Regions from separate parts of the Homo sapiens genome. Here all the other regions are linked to region 2. Evidence: promoter capture Hi-C in human tissues and cell types (Jung and others, 2019). All regions are on one chromosome and are shown on one strand. Each heading gives the region's core, a stretch centred on a gene start or on the middle of the fragment in contact. The rest is flanking DNA. Distances are from core to core; before and after follow the strand shown. Region 1 overlaps MRTFA (myocardin related transcription factor A). Region 2 holds the start of RBX1 (ring-box 1). Region 3 overlaps RANGAP1 (Ran GTPase activating protein 1). Region 4 holds the start of ZC3H7B (zinc finger CCCH-type containing 7B). Region 5 overlaps MRTFA (myocardin related transcription factor A). Region 6 overlaps MRTFA (myocardin related transcription factor A). Region 7 overlaps MRTFA (myocardin related transcription factor A).

What was found. Contacts are between HindIII fragments. The study calls those that stand out against the background at their distance.
Region 1: a fragment that was not itself captured here is called in contact with the fragment with the promoter of RBX1 in region 2 in 3 of the 25 tissues and cell types used here (dorsolateral prefrontal cortex, hippocampus and lymphoblastoid cells).
Region 3: a fragment that was not itself captured here is called in contact with the fragment with the promoter of RBX1 in region 2 in 1 of the 25 tissues and cell types used here (spleen).
Region 4: a contact is called between the fragment with the promoter of ZC3H7B here and the fragment with the promoter of RBX1 in region 2, in 1 of the 25 tissues and cell types used here (dorsolateral prefrontal cortex).
Region 5: a contact is called between a fragment that was not itself captured here and the fragment with the promoter of RBX1 in region 2, in 1 of the 25 tissues and cell types used here (lymphoblastoid cells).
Region 6: a fragment that was not itself captured here is called in contact with the fragment with the promoter of RBX1 in region 2 in 2 of the 25 tissues and cell types used here (adrenal gland and dorsolateral prefrontal cortex).
Region 7: a fragment that was not itself captured here is called in contact with the fragment with the promoter of RBX1 in region 2 in 2 of the 25 tissues and cell types used here (bladder and liver).

The regions. Positions count from the first base shown.
Region 1 is chr22:40,627,421-40,630,120 of GRCh38, reverse strand. All of the region lies in intron 1 of MRTFA (myocardin related transcription factor A), which reads left to right. Among named protein-coding and RNA genes, the nearest start is that of MRTFA, 7.9 kb to the left of the region's middle. The HindIII fragment of the contact is 9,289 bases long and covers 1-2,700 here.
Region 2 is chr22:40,950,069-40,952,768 of GRCh38, reverse strand. It overlaps RBX1 (ring-box 1), which reads right to left and starts at 1,391. Exons shown (of 5, transcript NM_014248.4): 1 at 1,293-1,391. The coding sequence starts at 1,370. RefSeq lists enhancers at 71-659, 1,115-1,324, 1,839-2,429 and a silencer at 1,375-1,954. The HindIII fragment of the contact is 18,244 bases long and covers 1-2,700 here.
Region 3 is chr22:41,263,082-41,265,781 of GRCh38, reverse strand. RANGAP1 (Ran GTPase activating protein 1) reads left to right here. Exons shown (of 16, transcript NM_002883.4): 5 at 939-1,118. Among named protein-coding and RNA genes, the nearest start is that of MIR6889, 11 kb to the right of the region's middle. RefSeq lists an enhancer at 787-1,662. The HindIII fragment of the contact is 7,310 bases long and covers 1-2,700 here.
Region 4 is chr22:41,300,275-41,302,974 of GRCh38, reverse strand. ZC3H7B (zinc finger CCCH-type containing 7B) reads right to left here and starts at 1,450. Exons shown (of 23, transcript NM_017590.6): 1 at 1,203-1,450. It also overlaps a transcript of RANGAP1 not described here. RefSeq lists silencers at 1,074-1,143, 1,424-1,763 and an enhancer at 841-1,342. The HindIII fragment of the contact is 5,663 bases long and covers 1-2,700 here.
Region 5 is chr22:40,484,178-40,486,877 of GRCh38, reverse strand. All of the region lies in intron 3 of MRTFA (myocardin related transcription factor A), which reads left to right. Among named protein-coding and RNA genes, the nearest start is that of MRTFA-AS1, 36 kb to the left of the region's middle. The HindIII fragment of the contact is 4,610 bases long and covers 1-2,700 here.
Region 6 is chr22:40,522,832-40,525,531 of GRCh38, reverse strand. The region is part of intron 3 of MRTFA (myocardin related transcription factor A); the gene reads left to right. MRTFA-AS1 (MRTFA antisense RNA 1) reads right to left here. Exons shown (of 4, transcript NR_109965.1): 1 at 2,559-2,700; 2 at 2,092-2,166; 3 at 1,814-2,007. Among named protein-coding and RNA genes, the nearest start is that of MRTFA-AS1, 2.4 kb to the right of the region's middle. The HindIII fragment of the contact is 3,575 bases long and covers 1-2,700 here.
Region 7 is chr22:40,466,525-40,469,224 of GRCh38, reverse strand. The region is part of intron 3 of MRTFA (myocardin related transcription factor A); the gene reads left to right. Among named protein-coding and RNA genes, the nearest start is that of MRTFA-AS1, 54 kb to the left of the region's middle. The HindIII fragment of the contact is 5,159 bases long and covers 1-2,700 here.

The DNA of each region.
Region 1 (2,700 bases), core at 85-2,584, 320 kb after region 2:
GGCTGGTCTCAAACTCCTGACCTCAGGTGATCCGCCTGCCTTGGCCTCCCAAAGCGCTAGGATGATAAGCATGAGCCACCGTGCTTGGCCAGTCCTGTACCTTTTAAATGCCCTCCAGATTAACCTTGTCCCTCAAACTCAGCCACACAGGTTCTCATTCTAGGTATTAGTGTGGGCCCTAGTTCCACCTCTAAGCTCTTGTGAAGCATATGGTGGGATCATAGCTCACTGCAACCTCAAAACTCCTTGTCTTAAGTGATCCTTCTGCCTCTGCCTCCTGAGTAGCTAGGACAACAGCATGTACCACCATGCTTGGCTAATTTTTTTTTTTTTTTTTTTTTTTTTGAGATGGAATCTTGCTCTGTCACCCAGGCTGGAGTGCAGTGGCGGGATCTCGGCTCACTGCAAGCTCCGCATCCTGGGTTCAAGCAATTCTCCTGCCTTAGCCTCCCGAGTAGCTGGGATTATAGGCACCCACCACCACGCCCAGCTAATTTTTTGTATATGTATATATTTTTTTTAGTAGGGACGGAGTTTCACTATGTTGGCCAGGCTGATCTCGAACTCCTGACCTCAGGCGATCCATCCGCCTCGGCCTCCCAAAGTATTGGGATTACAGCGTGAGCCACTGTGCCTGGCCTGCTTGGGTAATTTTTTTTTTTTTAATTATGTTTTGAGACGGAGTCTTGCTCTGTTGACCAGGCTGGAGTGCAGTGGTTCGATCTTGGCTCACTGCAACCTCCGTCTCCCGGGTTCAAGCCATTCTCCTGCCTCAGCCTCCCAGGTAGCTGGGACTACAGGCATGTGCCACCATGCCCGGCTAATTTTTTTGTATTTTTGGTAGAGACGGGGTTTCACCATATTGGACAGGCTGGTCTCAAACTCCTGACTTCAAGTGATCCGCCCGCCTCGGCCTCCCAAAGTGCTGGGATTACACATGTGAGCCACCGCGCCCAGCCTCTGCTTGGCTAATTTAAAAAATTTTTTTTGTAGAGAAGAGAAGAGAGTCTTGCTATATTGCCTAGACTAGTCTCAAATTCCTGGCCACAGCAATCCTCCTGCCTTGGCCTCCCGAAGTGTTGGGATTACAGGTGTGAGCCACCGTGCCTGGCCAAAATTCTTAAAAATACTGAATCCATATCACATGTATGAGGAGAGAAGATAATTACACTCTGTGTCACTGCAGGTGTTAAAGCAGAAATTGGGTGACCTGTCAGGGTGCATTGGGTGGAACTAATTGCTCAAGTTGCCTTCAGTTCTGTGGTTCATGACTCAAGTCCAGTTCTCTCATTGTTTAGTGGGAGGAGGCACTGTGAAATTAAATGATTTGAGTTCCACAACAGTCCAGGGGCTGAGCCCAGGCCAGTTCCTCACACAGTATTTAAGGCCGGCTCATATAGCAGTAATAGAAGATCTGTAGAATCCTTGGAAGAAAGAGCGTTGTGAAAATGTCTTTTTTTTTTTTTACTTCCACATTTTTACTTCTGTGGTATGTTTGGTTCATTTGCTCCCCACTCATTCTTATTGATATGCATTTAGAAATCATTCTCTGTGTAAATGAGAGCTTGTAATGAGTAATTTGGCTAGTTCATTTTGAGATCTGGAGTGTGTCCTCTGTTACTGAATTTCTAGATAGGTAGGCTATTTACAGGTCTTTGTCCTCTAAAATTATGAGTGGAAATTATGGGTGATTCTGGTTTTTGAAAATAATTGTTCTTGTATTAAAATTTAAAGCATAATGGGCATAATTCAAACAAAGTTCTGAACTTCATAATATGACAGAGTAAAATATCCAGTGAGGTAACATGTCCATGTCAAGTTTTAGGGCACAGCAGATCTGGGTACTGACAGTTACCAGGTATGTGACTGTAGGCTTACTCCTTAACCTTCCTGTGATTCAGCTTCTTCATCTGTAAACTAGAGTTAATAATCCTTACAACATGAGGTCGTTATAAGGATTATGAAGAAATGTAAAGAGGGAAGTAATAGGGGCATCTACTTTATAGTAGACATTGTGCTACCTTATTAATCCTCATATGAACTCTGAAATAAGTGGTAGTAGCAGCATTTTGCAGATGAGCAAAGAGAAGCTTCTAGAGGAACTTCTAGATAACAGGATTTTTGTTGTTGTTTTGCTTTTTTGTTTTTTTTAGACAGAGTCTTGCTTTGTCTTCCAGACATGAGTGTAGTGGCAGGGTCATAGCTCACTGTGTCCTCAAACTCCTGTAACCTCAAACTGCTGAAGCAGTTCTCCTGCATAACTAGGACTATAGGCGTGTGCCATCATGCCCGGCTAAATTTTTTTGTGCAGGCGGGGTGTCACAGTGTTCCCCAGGCTGATCTTGAACTCTTGCCCTCACGCTTTGACCTCCTAAACTGTTGAGATGACAGGCATGAGCCGCTGTGCCTGGCCAGGATTTGAATCCAGATCTGTTTTTGAATTAAATAATTCTGGCTTCCTACCATGATGTATATGAAGTTCCTAACTTTGCCTCTAGTAAATGTCTTTTCGTGTTCAGTGTCTTTTGCATAGTTAGCGAAAATGTCAGTTATAGTGAGAACTCTTTGTAGTAGTAATCAAGATGTTATAGCTCAGAAAATATTCTGTGCGGTATTCATTATATGTATCTGGTTGCCATTCCTGAGGTGGAAAACTATAATAGTAACCTCACATCTTAAGTTGCTCAATTAATACTTGCC
Region 2 (2,700 bases), core at 142-2,641:
TCACTTAAATCTTAGATTACTTCATAACAAATTCTACAATTCACTAGAATTTTGATTCTTACCATAAAATAAACTGATGTTCTCAACTTTTATATGTTTAGACTCTTCTATTAAGATAATAATTCCAGTAAGAGTTTAACAGAATTTCATTCATTCAACTCTGGCTTCCTCAATTACAAATACTCCCAAACCTTCTTCGCTTTCAAACCCCATTCTCAGTGCCTAGTAACTTCTTTACCACTTTTCACATCACAGCTTCAAGGTGGAGGAAAAGCCCCTACTTCTATTATTTTTCAATATGGCTGCTGGCTGTAACTGAGCAGCAGTGGCCACAATGAGACACCAAAAAGCACTAGGACGGGGGATATTGTCAGTGTTTAGCCAGATGTTCTAGGAATATCTTCCCTATTTTAGAATCTCCATTTTGAACAGCTTTCATGTTAGGTGAGAATCGATACTGTTCTCCCAAACTGTGGCAAACCACTAAAAGGCATTTCATGCAAAAAGACACGTTCCATTTTTGCTTTCCCACGCTTACCAAGTCGTTCGCGACTAGTACTCAACCCTCCCTAACTGCCACAGGATTTGGGCTCGGATTTTCTTAACAAGTTCCACCATGCTTTTTATTATTATTTTGGAAGGGGGAGATTCTGGACGTGACAGAGAACCCAAGAGTGGGGTGGTTGTGTGAAAAGCCAACAGACGTCTCAGAAGAGCCAAGCATTACACTCCAGACTCTAACCAGGCAGTGTGAGGCCTCGGTTCAGCGAGGATCCCTCCAAGTGAGAGGACCCCTCCAAGTGAGAGGACCCCAAGCTTCAAAAAGGGGCGGAGCAAGATCACCAAGGGGGGTCCTCAGAGGCCTCTAATGCGGTAGGACCTCAGGTTCCAGGCTCTCGCCGCACTGCCCCATCCTCCACCGCCGCATTCGCTTCGACTCCCCATTCCACCCACCCCACCCCACCCTACCCTGTCCTTCCCCCACCTCTCAACCACTCCAGTGACAGCTCAAGCGCTTGGCTCCCGCCGCCAAGTCGCAACCCCGCGTATCTCAATAAGCAGCTCTGTGATTGGCCCCTTAGCCTCACAGCGAAACCAACACTTCCCCCAACAGTGGGCCGCCGTCACGCCGATCAACTCTAAGACCCGCCCCCCGGCTTCCTTTCGTGGTACCCGGTCCCAGGAACGCCCTGAAATGAAACCCTTTACTCCGCGCCTCGACCATCCTCGGGCCTGCCAGCCAGATCCGCGCCTCTCTAGCTTCCCTGAGGAAGGCGCTGGCGAGACCCAACCTTTTTCACTTCAAAGCGCTTCTTGCCCGCGCCGCTGTTGGTGCCGCTCGGGGTATCCACATCCATCGCTGCCGCCATTTTGGAAACACACGGTCTGTCGTCCGACCACCGCGCCTGCGCAGCAGCGCACACTTCGCTCCCCCCACCTCCCCGGCACCTCCTCCCGCACCCCACCCCTTACTGGCGCGCGAGGCGGAGGTGGGGGCGGAGCACGTGACCACGCCTCTTAAAGGGGCTGTCGCAGGTCGCCCCACCCGCGAACTGTAGGCCGGGGAGGGGGCGGTGGCCGGAGTGGGTGGGGCGGGGCCGGGCGGGGCCGGGCGGGGCCGAGGCTACGTGAGCTAGCCGGGTGGAAACGTTCGAAAGGGCTCGACGTCGCCGCCTCCTCTGGGAAGCCCCCGGCCGCACTCCGTCAGCTGGGGCGGCGGCTGCTTCCTCCGCCTGAGCCAGACCTGCGCCGCAGTCCTGTCCTGCCTGCCGGGCTCGCCGAGTCGCCGCGCGGCTCCCGGTGCTGGCGTGGGTGGGCGCCCGCGGCCTGCCCCGAAACCCAAGAGTCCTCGCTGGTCTTTCGCAGACTCTGACCCGCTTCCGAGCCAGGCCCAAGGTGCAGTCCCCGTGGGAGGGCTGGGGCCCAGGCACCGTCTGGTCTCCGATTTCTGTTCGGGAACTGCTCAGGGATTCGATGGGGAGAGAGGAGACCCCCGAAGTTCCTCCCTAAGGCCACACTGAGCAGGCCCCCAGCCCTGCCTTTACTCGCCCGCCAAGCCTGGGGGGTGGCCTCTGCGCCCACATAGTCGCAGTCCTAGGACCGCCTTTGGTCGTGGTGCACGGTTTCACCGTAACGTGTGTCAGTCCCCACTCCGCATTCCTCAGTTGTCATCTTTGTAGGGTGATTTCTCCCCGATCTGTGTCCTTTTTCCGCTGCTTGTGCTGTAGTGAAACCGACCCATCTGCAGTCGCTGTATTTCTTGAATTTTTGTGAGGCATTCTTTTTTAACTCTTGTTGCCCAGGCTGGAGTGTAATGGCGCGATTTCGGCCCACTGCAACCTCCGCCTCCAGGATTCAAGCGATTCTCCTGCCTCAGCCTCCCGAGTAGCTGAGATTACAGGCGCCCGCCACCACGCCCGGCTAATTTTTTGTATTTTTAGTAGAAACGGGGTTTCACCACGTTAGCCAGGCTGGTCCCGAACTCCTGACCTCAGGTGATCCGCCTGCCTCGGCCTCCCAAAGTGCTAGAGCCGCTTTTTTTTTTTTTCTTTTTTAATTTTTTTAAAAAATAGAGACAAGGTCTCACTATGTTGCCTAGGCTGGTCTCGAACTCCTGGGCCCAAGTGATCCTCCCACTTCGGCCTCCCAAAGTGCTGGGATCACAGGAGTGAGCCATCCCACCCGACCCAAGCACCTGTA
Region 3 (2,700 bases), core at 183-2,682, 310 kb before region 2:
TTCCTGCCCCCATGGACCACCTGCTCAGCCCCATTTCTGACCCAGTCTCTGGCAGAGCCTCCTCTCTGACCATTTCTCCTGGTGGGGTGAGGGAATGTAGCTCTCCCCAGCCCAGGAGGTTTCCAGGAGAGCTTCAAATCACCCTGTCAAAGCTGATCCTGGCCGTGGCTTAGAGATGGCCACCTCCATCTGCCAGTCACCACCAGAAACCCTGGAGGCATTTGTGGTTCCTCCCTCCCTCCTCCTGCACGAACAGGGAACCAACAGCTTCTGCATGTCCCCTGCTCCATGAACAGGCAGCTCCTCTCCCACACTTGTCACACCGGCTGGCAGGTCCCCTCTGTTGCCAGTGTCGCTGCCTCACACTCCTGGGTGGGCACTCCAGCCCCCCTTTCTGTGCATCTGCTCACCTCAGGTCTGGGGATATTAATTCCATATCCCTCAGCCACCTCAAAGCCCACTGCTCTCAGGCTGAGGCTCACAGTCCTTGGCCTGGCATTCAAGGCTCTTGCCTGATCTGACCCCTCACTTCCCTTCCACCCAAAGCCCATGCCACGGCTTCTTCTGGAGCCTACCCACAGCTTTCCTCCAGGCTCACAGCCTGCTGCTTCATGCTTATGTCTCTCTGCTCCTGTTTTTTCAGCTGCCTGGAGTCTTTTCATGTTGACTAGCTGATTCTCATCCAGACTAAGTCCAAATGCCACCTCTTACAAGGAGCCTTCCCGGGCCACTCCAGGCATACGCATCCCCCACTCTCCAGCTGTTAGGAGCCCTTTGCAGGGTTTCCAGTCTTAAGAATACTGAAATGGTTTGTGTCTGTGTTGGTTCTGCACCAGCCGGGGTGTCCTTGGAAGGCAGAGCTGGGCCTGGCACAGAAGCAGCACCCAGCACAGAAGCTGGGTGTCTATGAAACTGACACGAGCTTCCTCTGTGCCCAGATCTCACTAGGGGAAGGACTCATCACAGCTGGGGCTCAGCTGGTGGAGCTGGACTTAAGCGACAACGCATTCGGGCCCGACGGTGTGCAAGGCTTCGAGGCCCTGCTCAAGAGCTCAGCCTGCTTCACCCTGCAGGAACTCAAGCTCAACAACTGTGGCATGGGCATTGGCGGCGGCAAGGTGGGTGTGGCAGCCCCCTCCCCGCAGAGTCCCCTGGTCCATCCACATCCGTCTGACATATGTGCCCTGGCCCTTGGCCACCACCATCTGGGATGGTCAGCCGTTGTTTTCAAAAGAGAAAGGCCTCAAAGGCAACAGCCTGTGGCCGGAGGGTAGAGGCGTCCATGAGGGTGGGGTTGCCAAGCAACCATCCCCAGTTCTTGGGTTGGCTTGGCAACGCAGAGGGAGTGCCACTGCATACCTGCTCCAGCCTGCTGGCTCTGCAAAACTCAGGGCTTGGGGCATCCCTATACTCACTGTACCCGCAGAGCAGCTGGTAGAGCCTGGCACATAGGCAGAGGGAGTCTGAAAAGAGGAGCATATGCTCAGGGGGGGCACCGTCACAGCTCACCTTTATTCCTAGACAGGGCCTTGCCCAGGGAGGTGTCCTCAGGCAAGGTCAGTGTAGAGCTTCACGTTGGGCTGGTCAGTGTAGAGTGGAGCTTCTTTGCTTCCCAGAACCTGCATCAAGGGCGGCCTGCCGTATTATTCTCTTCCAACTCCATCCCAGTGCCTTTAGACCCAGGGTTGGAGGACACTGAGTGCCAGGCTGCAACCCCTACACACACTTTCTAACCAAAGGGAGAAAAGGGCTGGGGACACAGAAGTAACAGCAGTTGGGGATATCTTATTTGAATATGCAATACCTTAACTTTTCCCACCCACACTGAAAGGTGGCTGATGCCATCCCAGTTTTTCCACATGACTCAGCATAGGCTTAGAGAGATGGGGTGGAGTGGATCACATAGCTAGTGCTGTGAGGCCCATGGAGCCCCAGGCTGAGGAGCTGGAGTGGCCTCCCCTGCAGAGGGTGCCTGTGTCCCTCGGCCTGACGTGAGGGTGAGCAGGGGCAGGCTCTGTGCCTGCCTTAGCCAGCCCTCCCCCAAGTCCACTTGGGCAATAAGCTATCCCTGTGTTAAGATGTAAAAATGGGCCGGGCACGGTGGTGCAGTGGCTCATGCCTGTAATCCCAGCACTTTGGGAGGCCGAGTCGGGCAGATCACCTGAGGTCAGGCGTTCGAGACCAGCCTGGCCAACATGGTGAAACCCCATCTCTACTAAAAATACAAAAATTAGCTGGGTGTGGTGGCAGGTGCCTGTAGTCCCAGCTATTCGGGAGGCTGAGGCAGGAGAATTGCTCGAACCCGGGAGGTGGAGGTTGCAGTGAGCCGAGATGGCGCCACTGCACTCCAGCCTGGGCAACAAGAGCAAAACTCCGTCTCAAAAAAACAAACAAACAAACAAACAAACAGAAACATATAAAAACGTTTGCGTCAGCACAGAAAGCAGGCGTGGCCCAACCTAGAGTGAGTGGCATACGCTGGGAGAGCCAGAGACTCTATTCTAGCAAAATGCTTCGGTTTTCCTTCCATTACTTCCCTTCTCCTGCCCAGCAGTGCCTGGAAACTGAGGCTCAGGGAGCTTTCCTACTGGCCAGGAGTTGTCTGGCCTGTCCTATACTTGTAATGGGGTGAGTTGGGGAATGAGTTTTGGACCCAGGACCAGAGGGCCTCCTGGGCAGACAGGCCTACCCTGGAGTTTG
Region 4 (2,700 bases), core at 201-2,700, 350 kb before region 2:
ATCAGGCTGAACTGCAGATGCTGAGGAATATGGCAAGAAGTTGGGGTTCAAAGTCTGATGCCAAAGCTAGCAACCCGAGAAATAAAACCGCTGATCACCAGCTCCCCACTCAGGCCCAGCCCCCTTTTAGAGCCCCCAGACTCCCCACGCAGGGCCCTAGCCCCCTAGTCTTCCCCGTCAATGCCCTGTTGGCAATACAGCCATCAGGTTCTATCAGAGTGAGCTGTTTTTATATGATTATTTTCCCCCCTGGGAAGACGGCTTTGTCTGTGAAAGTCCCCCCAACCAGGCGCCTTATAAACGCCTAAAACAGACAGAGTTGAGGAGAAAGGAGGGGAAAGGAGGAGGGAGCAAACCCGGAGGGGGGCCCTGAGGTTCGCAGCGGGCAGGATGGGGGTATGAGGCCGGAGTCGGCGGCTCCCAGGCCCCCAGCCCCGTCAGGGCGCCCCCGTCCCCAGGCGCCAGAGCCGGGGTCCGCAGCCCCCTAGCACTCCCTGGACGGCCGCGGGCCTCCCACAGGCCTCGAAGTCCAGAGACTGATCCTGCGACCGGAAACGCCCCCCTGCCCAGCAGGCCCAGACCGCGCCCCCCTTTCCTGCCGCCCCCTTCCCGCGGGCCCGGCTGCAGGCCCCGGATCCCCGGGCTCGCGTGGCCGCCGCAGCCGAAAGGGGCGGCCCGTCGGGCGGCCCCGCTCCCCGGCCCTCGCCGCGGCCCCTCCAACTCCGGGTGCTGCGGGGCCAAGGACAACACAAAAGGAAGGGGGGCCCTGCCAGCGACGCCCCTGCCAGCCCCCGAGACCCCCTGCGCGGGGTCGGCAAAGCATCTGGACACCCCAGAAGCTCCGGACGCCGAAGAGAGAGGCCCCACGAAAATTTCAAGACACCTCCTGGGGGCTGCAGGGGCGGCCAAGTCTCCCCAGCGCCAGGTGCCCCCGGCCACACGGTAACTTTTAAACTTTGGGGCAGGGCACGGGGACCGGGATCCCCAAAAAGGAGCAAATGGGGTTTTAGAGACGATTTATTTTTTGCAAAATCCCACTTTCCAGGTGGCCCGGCGCGCGGCCCCGGCCTGGAAAGGGCTCTCTTCGCCTCTTCCCCAGCCCTGCCCGGCCCGGGCGTCCCCGAACCCTCGCGCGCGGGCGGCTCCGGACGCAGTGTCCCCGGCCTCTGCCCCGCGGGGCTCGGGCCGCGCCAAGCACTCACCTCCGCCGGGCTGCGCTCCCCGCGGGCCTGCGCCGAGCCCGATAAATGGTATGCTATGACTAGAGGTATGATTACGTTATTATTATTAGTAATAATAAGAGTAAATGCTATTTAATTACGGGCGGCCGCATCCTGCTCCCGGCGCCGCCGCCCCGGCAGCTCCGTCCATGTGGCTCTGGAGCGCTTTACTTTCATTTCCAGCCCCTCGGCTGGCCGCTCGCGGCAGCACCCGCTGGAGGCACTGTCTCCCTGCAGCTCTTCCTCCTCGGGTCCTAGAGAGCTCGGCTCCCGTCGCCTCGCCGCGCCCGGGGTGGGCGGCGCGGGCTGCGCACCTGGGGAGAAGGGCGGGGGGCGTGGGGGCGAGTCGGGGAAGCCCCATTCCCCGTCGAAAGCTCATGCCTGGAATTCACCTTTATTTTCTTTAAAAGTGTCCTGCCTTTTAGGGGGGTTTCTTTTGGCAGTTCTGCATTTCTGGGCTGATGCTGCTCAAACCCAGCGCCTCCGCCCTTCCCCATCTGTGTCAAAAGTCCCCCCGCCCCCCTTCTCCGGCTTCCAGGTGCTTTCATGGAAGGCTGCCCAAAACCCTGGTTGCGTTGTGCCCTTCTCATAGATGGGAACCGGAGACACATAGAAGAATCAGGACCTCACTTGGCTGGAGTTTTATGTATAGGATGTTAAAAAAAATATTGAATGACACTTGTTAAAGACTACAAGGCCGACTTTATTGGCATCATGATGGGTGTAGGGACCACTGCAGTGGGTTTTGCGGTCAGGGAGAGTATTTGGGCTCAATTCAGAAATCAGCATGGGCAACTGGGAATTTATGAGGAAGGAGAAAGGATCCACTGATTGAGCGCCAGTGCATAGGAAACTGCATCAGAGATGAGAGGATTCTCGCTTAAACCCATCTAACAAGATTCTTGCTGAAGGCAGGGCAAGGTGATCAGACATCACCTGGGGAATGGTGGAAAATGAGGAACCTGATTAGATATTGACAATCAGGGCTGGGTGCAGTGGCTCACGCCTGTAATCTCAGCACTTTGGGAGGCCAAGACGGGTGGATCACCTGAGGTCAGGAGTTCAAGACCAGACTAGCCAACGTGGTGAAACCCCATCTCTACAAAAATACAAAAATTAGCCAGGCGTGGTGGTGGGTGCCTGTAATCCCAGCTACTCAGGAGGCTGAGGCAGGAGAATCACTTGAACCCCAGAGGTGGAGGTTGCAGTGAGCCAAGATCATGCCATTGCACTCCAGCCTGGGCAACAAGAGCAAAACTGTCTCCAGAAATATATGTGTGTGTGTGTGTGTGTGTGTGTGTGTGTGTGTGTGTGTGTGTGTGTGTGAGTTCCCAATACCCCCTAGGCAATTTACAATGAAACACCCTTGACAACTTATCACATTTACCACCATGGTTATTATCACTCTCATTTCATCGATGAGGATGCTGAGGCCAGTTGGATTGCTGCATTTTGCCTCAAGTGAACTAGATGGCAAATG
Region 5 (2,700 bases), core at 132-2,631, 470 kb after region 2:
CCTTAGTCCCCCAAGTAGCTGGGACCACAGGCAAGTGCCACCATGCCCAGCTAATTTTTTTGTAGAGATGGGGTTTTGCCGTGTTGCCCAGGCTGTCTGAGATCAAGTGATCCACCAGCCTCAGCCTCCCAAAGTGCTAGGATTAGAGGCGTGAGCCACACTGCACCCGGCTCCCTGTACCCTTCTTAATACGAACTTAAAGTGTTCGTAATGAGCCAACCGTTGTAAGGTTTTTGGACTTCTTATAAAAAGCCAGATTCAAATACAGTTGTTTAGACAAAAATGTCTTAGTATGGAAATATGCATGAGCATATTTTCCTGCCAGATTTGTGGTTAGAAAAGAAGCAAATTTTCCTCCTAGAGTGGAAGGAAGAAAAAAACAATAAAGAAAAGAAGCAAGCTATTCAAGAAGAAGGTAGTATAGTGGTAGCTTTTTGTTGAGACCAGTCACCAGCCTGGAACTTTCTTTAGTAAGTAATTAGATTCATTGAATAAAATGTTCAACCGAGCTTGGTGCAATCTCATAGTTACAAAACACTCTTGCCAAAGAAAGTTGCAGTCTTAATATCCGTAATCGAATCATTTCCTGTTCGGGCTTGCAGGTGGGGAACAATCTGAAACTGCAGTCCTATAAGATTAGTTATAAAGAAAACGCCTTGGTGGGAGAAGCCTTGATGATAATATTGAATAGACAGCCTAACAAGTGTGGGGATGAAGAAGGTACACCAGGATCCTGGGACTAACCAGATTTAAAGGCGTAAGTCGGGATCTGCAAGCCCACTCCCTTGGGGTGATCTGAATAAAGCTACTCTAGGGCATTCAGGTATGTGCTGAACACACTCGGGCAGTGGGCCAGGCAGATGGCTCATTCCTGCACCGACCTTCGAAGGCCTGCCAGGTTGAAAAGCTACCACTGGGGAGGCATGGCTGTGCTCTAGCAAGAACAAGAACATGCATTTCATGTAGCATTTGGTCCTTCCCAGTTGAGGGAGATGCCTTAGGACTACGTTAATCTCTGAGTCCACTTAGGGCTTGGGATGTATTCTCACAGCCCTTGCTCCTCCTCCATCTTAGAGTTTATTTTTACCATCATTGCAACCTCCTCTAAGTGATTCTTCCAGACCCATAGTTAGCCTTTGAGATTCCGCAGTTCTCCTCCCTACTCTTCCCCACCATGTCTTCATTGAGACCCACATTTTTAGGTTTGACTAAACCTTCCATCTAGGAATAGGTAGGAGGCTAAGCAATTTAGGCCGCATTCATGTATCCTGTCATTTGCTTCACTGCATCTTCTTGGCTGTGGTAAAGGAAATTTAGGTGTGATACACTCCTTAGGCTTCCCTGCCCTGCCCCCCTTTCCTTTTGCCCTTTTGATTTTTTTTAATCTGATACTCAGGCTCTCCTCCCGCCTTCACACACCATTGGAGTCTCCTAAGCTATTTCTGTCAGTTTAATGATCCCCAGCTGTTGCCACAGTTCAGGCTGTTTTCATGCCCAGGAGAAGCATCGAAGAGGCAGAGGAAAAGGGGTCTTGTTTGTTGTCTGTCCCACAGTGTGTAAAACAAATCAAATTCATTTTTCTGAAACTACTAGTGAGATTCCTTAGGGATGGATGTTAATACTGGGATGATTTGAAAATCAGGAGGAGGAAAAGTACATGGTAGTATCAGGGACATTTTTAAAATAAGCATTCTGCTGATAGGTGTGGCACTCTGCATCACTCAGAATTATGCTAGAAAATTGAGGTATGTGGTATGGAGGAATTATTTGATCACTTTGCATTCTTTTAGATTTTTTTTTTTTTTTTGAGACGGAGTCTCACTATGTTGCCAGGCTGGAGTGCAGTGGCGCAATCTCCTCTCACTGCAACCTCCTACTCCCAGATGCAAGCGATTCTCCTGCCTCAGCCTCCTGAGTAGCTGGGATTTACAGGCACGTGCCACCATGCCCAGCTAATCTTTGTATTTTTAGTAGAGACGGGGTTTCACCATGTTGGCCAGGATGGTCTCGATCTCCTGACCTCGTGATCCGCCTGCGTCGGCCTCCTAAAGTGCTGGGATTACAGGTGTGAGCCACCGCACCCGCCTCTACTTTTAGATTTTGAGCTGGAATTTCCCTTCTACTCATGTATGTTGAAGGAGTATCTAAATTAAAAGAATTCTGTAATAGGAAATATATGGAAATTGTTTCTGAAGTATCCAGAAAAGGCATTTATTTAAGTTCTGCTTTAACTTAATGCAGGTTTGTTTCGTAAAATTTTGTGCAAAACCTGCAGTAGTGAAATGTTCCATTTGCAAATTCAACCACACAGACTTCAGGAAATACAAAGTTGCGGTACTTATAACATGAACTCTTCTACAGTTACACCTACCTTTGCTTTTGAAAAGTCTTTACTAAACCTGGGGGATGTGGAGTGGGAAAATCCTACAGTAGTTAAATGGGCTCCTAATGTATTATAATGATCTGGCTTCTCCTTTATGTGTTTGATCTTGAGAATTTTAACCCATTCCAACAAGTTTAGCTGATTTGTAGCTTTTACGCTCAGACACTACATGAAGTTTAATTTTATGGATTTCTTTCTTCCACAGAGAAGACAAATTTTGCTGCAGACTTTATCAAATTTTATTTTTAAATTTTTATCTTTTTGAGTCAAATAGCTAAAATTTTACATCATTTAGGACTGAAGAGTGAGAATTTACT
Region 6 (2,700 bases), core at 149-2,648, 430 kb after region 2:
TGGTTTTTTATATTTTTATAATTTTTTTGTGAGACAGGGTCTTGCTCTGTCGCCCCCTGCTGGAGTGCAGTGGTGGGATCTCGGCTCACTGTAACCTCTGTCTCCCGGGCTCAAGCAAACCTCCCCGACAGCTTCCTGTCTAACCCAGGAGTTCAAGACCAGCCTGGGCAACATAGCAAGATTCCATCTTTACAAAAAATTTTTTAAAATAATTTTTAAAATGTGGAATAATGTTTACCACTTATCTCTATAATTCTAGAAAAGTGGCTTTGAGGCTATACACCAGAATATGAATAACTTTCTCTGAGTAGTGAGATTTCATAGGGGACATTATATTTTTTCCATCTTTTGGGTTTTCCTGTATCTTTCTGATTTTCTATGATGAGCATACATTTCTTTTGTATTCCAATAAAGCTTATGTTGGCTGGGCACAGTGACTCACCCCTGTAATCCCAGCATTTTGGGAGGCTGGGGCGGGCGGATCACTTGAGGCCAGGAGTTTAAGACCAGCCTGGCCAGTATGGCGAAACCCCATCTCTACTAAAAATACAAAAAAATTAGCTGGGTGTGGTGGCCCATGCTTGTAATCCCAGCTACTTGGGAGGCCGAGGCAGGAGAATTGCTTGAACCTGGGAGGTGGAGGTTGCAGTGAGCCGAGATTGCGACATTGCACTCCAGCATGGGTGACAAGAGCAAAACTCTGTCTCAAAAACATACACACGCACACGCACAAAAATAAATAAAGCTTATGTTAAATTGTGTGTATGCACATACACAGGTAGGTACAGTTAAAAGAGGAAGAAGATGGATGGAAGCATAATGATTAGGAGATAGAGCTGTTAATTTGGAACCTCTGCAGTCAAAGTGCTCCCTCCACTGACCAAATACTGCATGATAAGGAGGCACTCCATCTCATTAAACTGTTCCCTCTGACCAGTTGAGTTTGTATAAATCTCTTTTACATTTTTGCCTTTGTTTCTATTTTGTAAGACTTATTGAAATTTATCTTTGCAGTGTTTGTGTTAGGCCATGTTCTTGGCAGAGCTGTGGCTCCTTCCTGTGTACACTCATTTACTCTCAATTTGCTGAACCTCTCAGAAGTTTTCTGTCAAAAAACAACACGTTAAATTTTTTGTTTGCTTTTGTTGGGTAAGAATAATCTGATTTGTTGTAGGCATAAAATGGTGGTGTTAGTATACAATGTTTTAATTATTTTTTTGTGTAGCTTTTATTTTTGAGCCAGGGTCTCACTCTGCTGCCCAGGGTGGAGTGCAGTGGCATAATCACAGCTCATTGCAGGCTGGACCTCCCCAGGCTCAGGTGGTCCTCCCACCACAGATTCCTGAGTAGCTGGGACTGCAAGTGCACATCACTAGGCCCAGCTAAAAAAATTTTTTTTAATGAGAGACAGGTTTTCACTATGTTGCCCAGCCTGTTTTAATTTTTTGAAAGTGCATTTCTGCAATATATTTTGCTCATTGACTATAGGGTGTGAAAATTGTCCTTAACAATTCATGATGCTGTATCTTTCTGATTTTCTGTTTTTCTGTTTTTCCTTGCAAATAGGATCTTGAGGAACTAAAATATTAATTAAACTTGATTTTTTGAACTGTTTTCTTAGTATATTCTCTTGGGAATCGATAAGATTATATTCCTCAAATCAGTGCCATAAGACTAATTTATTTGGTTATGTAAAGTACTGAAAACTTAGGTATCAACATTAATTAGGTTACTCAAACAGATACTATGTCCGTATTCTTCTAATACCTTGCTACTCAAAGTATGTTCCAAGGTCTGGCAGCCTTTGTATCACCTGGAAGCCTATTAGGAATGCAGAATCTCAGACGCCACCTCAGACCTGCGGAATCACAATCTGTTTTAAAAAGATTATTTGCCGGGTGCAGTGGCTCACAGCTGTAATCCCAACACTTTGGGAGGCCAGGGTGGGCAGATTGCTTGATGTCAGAAGTTTGAGACCAGCCTAGGCAACATGGTGAAACCTCATCTCTACAAAAAATGCAAAAATTAGGCAGGCATGGTGATACACACCTGTAGTCCCAGATACTTAGGGGGCTGAAGTGGGAGGCTCACTTGAATTTGGGAGGTCAAGGCTGCAGTGAACCGTGTTTGCACCACGGTATTCCAGCTGGGCCACAAAGTGAGACCCTATCTCAAAAAAAAGATTGTCACATGCATATTAAAGTTGAGAAGTTCAGTTCCAAAAGATATTTTATTTTTATTTCCCAAGATGCTATGAGATGTGTTGGATTTATATGTGGGATTTATATGATGTCTAATTAGTATGGAAGAATAGGGTAAAACAGGAAACAAAAAAGAAAACCTGCTCCTGGTATAGTTCTCTGTGTTAGATAAACGTTCACAATTTGACAACTTTTTTTTTTTTTTGCCATTTTTCTTCATTTTTCAAAGAAAGAACAAATAGGCTTATTTTTGGCATTCTAGAATGTTTAACTGGGAAGGATCTTAGACATGACCTGATAACAAACCTTGGTTTTACAGGTGAACAGACGGGGGGCTAAGAATGTTAAGTGACTTACCCAAGATCATATAGCGTGGACTCCCTGTGACCTGATTTTCAAACTACTGATCTTTGGAACTCCTGTGCTACCCCTCTGTGTTGCTGAAGGCCATCTATTCTTAGTTGGTTCTATTGATGTTGGTTGAAACCATCCCGAACAT
Region 7 (2,700 bases), core at 58-2,557, 480 kb after region 2:
TCATATCTCAGCATGAGGTTTGGAGGGGGCACACATTTGAACTGTTTCAATATCCTTACTAATTTCTACCTAGTTGTTCTGTCTATTGTTGAGAGTGAGGTAGATTGCGATTTTTAGAGGAGATAAACTCAAATACTCCTTATTCAAAGTTAGTTAAATAAGCACCATGCAATTTATTAAAATGTAGAAATGCTCTAGTATTAGTTGTACCTTACAAATGCCAGAAATGACATCTATTAATTTACTTTCTAGTATACTGGGGCTATTTTAATGTTTTTAGTGTGAAGGTCATTGTTAATTCTCATGAAAACTGATGCATTCAAACTTGGCTCCAACCAGACCAGTCTTTCAGTTGATTGTTTCTGGATAGCAGTTTCCCCCCTGAAGTATGACAGCCTCCAGAGTTGGAAGCCAAATATCTGAGTGGGGGAAGAGAAAAGATTTTTGAGAAGGCTTGTCTGCATTTTGGTCTCCTCAAGCATATACACCTCATTAATTTTCAAATGCAGCACTGTTTTGGCTGGCATATAATTTCTAGTCCAGGGGCATTTCCTTTACTCATCAACAAGTTTGTTTTGGAGCCTTTTCTAACATAAATATTCTGAAAAGTGGTGGCCAAGTTTATTGTCATTTGATTAGAAGTTTCATGAGAAAAAGACTTGTCAGTATTCCTGAGTTACAGCTCAGTTAATGAAATGTCCCTACAGTCTGAGAATCTTCCTTGAGAGGACTTAGCTGGGCAAAAGATTATGTGGAGGGAGGGGTCTTGTTTTTTTACTGTCCTGTTCTTCCCATACTAACCCCACCTTCCTATTCTTTTCTACTTCCTCATAATTTATACTTTATCTTCTGATTGTAGAAGTCTTGGTGGAATCAATACATGTATAAGGTAGGAACAGCTATCAACTGCATGTTTCCTTTCCAGTGAAATCCAGGACAAATGACCGGTGGAAGAGCTAGGCTTGAGAACTCCACTTCTTACTCCTTTCTTGTTCCAGTCTTGATTGACCCAGCTGTTTGATGTGTTCATTTCTTGGGTATTACCCCTCGAATCCTATCAACATCCTTCCATGGTCTTACAGGGCAGAGATATATTAAGGTCACTCCTTGGCTTTTCCCTCACCCCCAAAGTAGCTAGTTATTCAAATAGCAATTGATGCCTTTGTTTGAGGCAGGTAAAAAACTTGATTATTTCCATGGAGAGTGGAGAACCTAGGGTTTTTCACTTTATGGTTGGGTTTCTTTTCTTTTTATTCCATTCTTTTCTGGCAGGCAACTCAGTTGATTCACCACCCATCAGCTCTAAAGACATCTGTTCATCTATGTATAGGTTGTTCACACAGGCCCATTTAGAAACATGATATATTAAATTTGTGGAAATCAGTAACAGTAAAGGATTAAAGACTTATGCTTGTATACAAATAAATATTTTTGTTGAGTCTTTATTGGCTTGGGGAATGATGAGCAAATCTAAGTAGTGATATACAATGACATAGAAAGATGTCAAAATTCCTACTCTCCTAAATCTCCATAGGCTTATACTGTCTGTGAAAAATCATCATTTGTTTCAGATATTTCTCGGTGAGAGTGGATGTGTATTAAATTTATGGCCTCTGAAATTTATTCCTGATTTTGGTAACTTTGGCAGTGAACACAGAACATATGGCTCTGTGGTATTTACTGAAAGTAGGTTATTAAATAATTGCTTCTAAAATGAATAATCCTAAGGTCTGGAAATGTAAAGTCATTTTGTTTAGAATGCTTAGAATTAAGAGGAATTAATAGACCAAGGAAACAAAAACTCCATATAAACAGCTGTTTCTTTGTAGTTGGAAGTCTTAGACGATGGATCATTTTTAGTCTACACAGATAAACATAAAGCAGATAAATTATAAAACAAAATGAATTATAGGTTGACTGCCATAATTCTGAGTTTACTGCTTCAGTCTTTTTTCCCCCTCTTTGTAACCATTGAAGGTTATGCAGTGCATAAAACAACACATACCTAAATCAGGTTATTGCAGTACCCAAGATGATACTGATACAGGATAATTCTGTTATTTGAGTGGGGAACTTTGTCAGATGTCAGATAAGCACAGAGTTCAAAGTTAACTCCTGGGAGGGACAAGATGGAATTTTCAGATAACTGAACTTTAATTTCATTCAGTTTTAGAGATGGAAAAGGTTTATTAGATAAGCTTTCGTCTTTGTACTGGAGCTGTATATGTGTGTGTATAAATATATATATATATATACATGCATAATATATACACGGTTGTGTATATGTGTATGTATATATAAGCTGAATATGCCTTTACTGTAATCTCCACAGAAAACTTGAATCAAATTTATTAAATGTGTTAGCTTTCATAAATTTAAATTTTTGCGTTCATGAAGCAAGAAGTTTTTCAATCAAGAAGTTTATGTAATATCCCTATGGCCCTATTCATATATGGTTTACTTAAGAAGGCTAGTGGTTAATATTTCAAAATTATTCTTGGATTAATAGCCATTGCTTATGTTATTGTTTCTTTGAAGTGTTCAGACTTACTGAATTGCATTGTTCCCTTATTCTCTGAAATAAAATTAATTTGTCACATTTAATAATTTTCTAATAGTTCATCTTACACTGGGCTTTAGAAACACTCTAAAAGATGACAATTATTTGCCCTTTTATCCCTCTTAGATTTTATCCTGCTT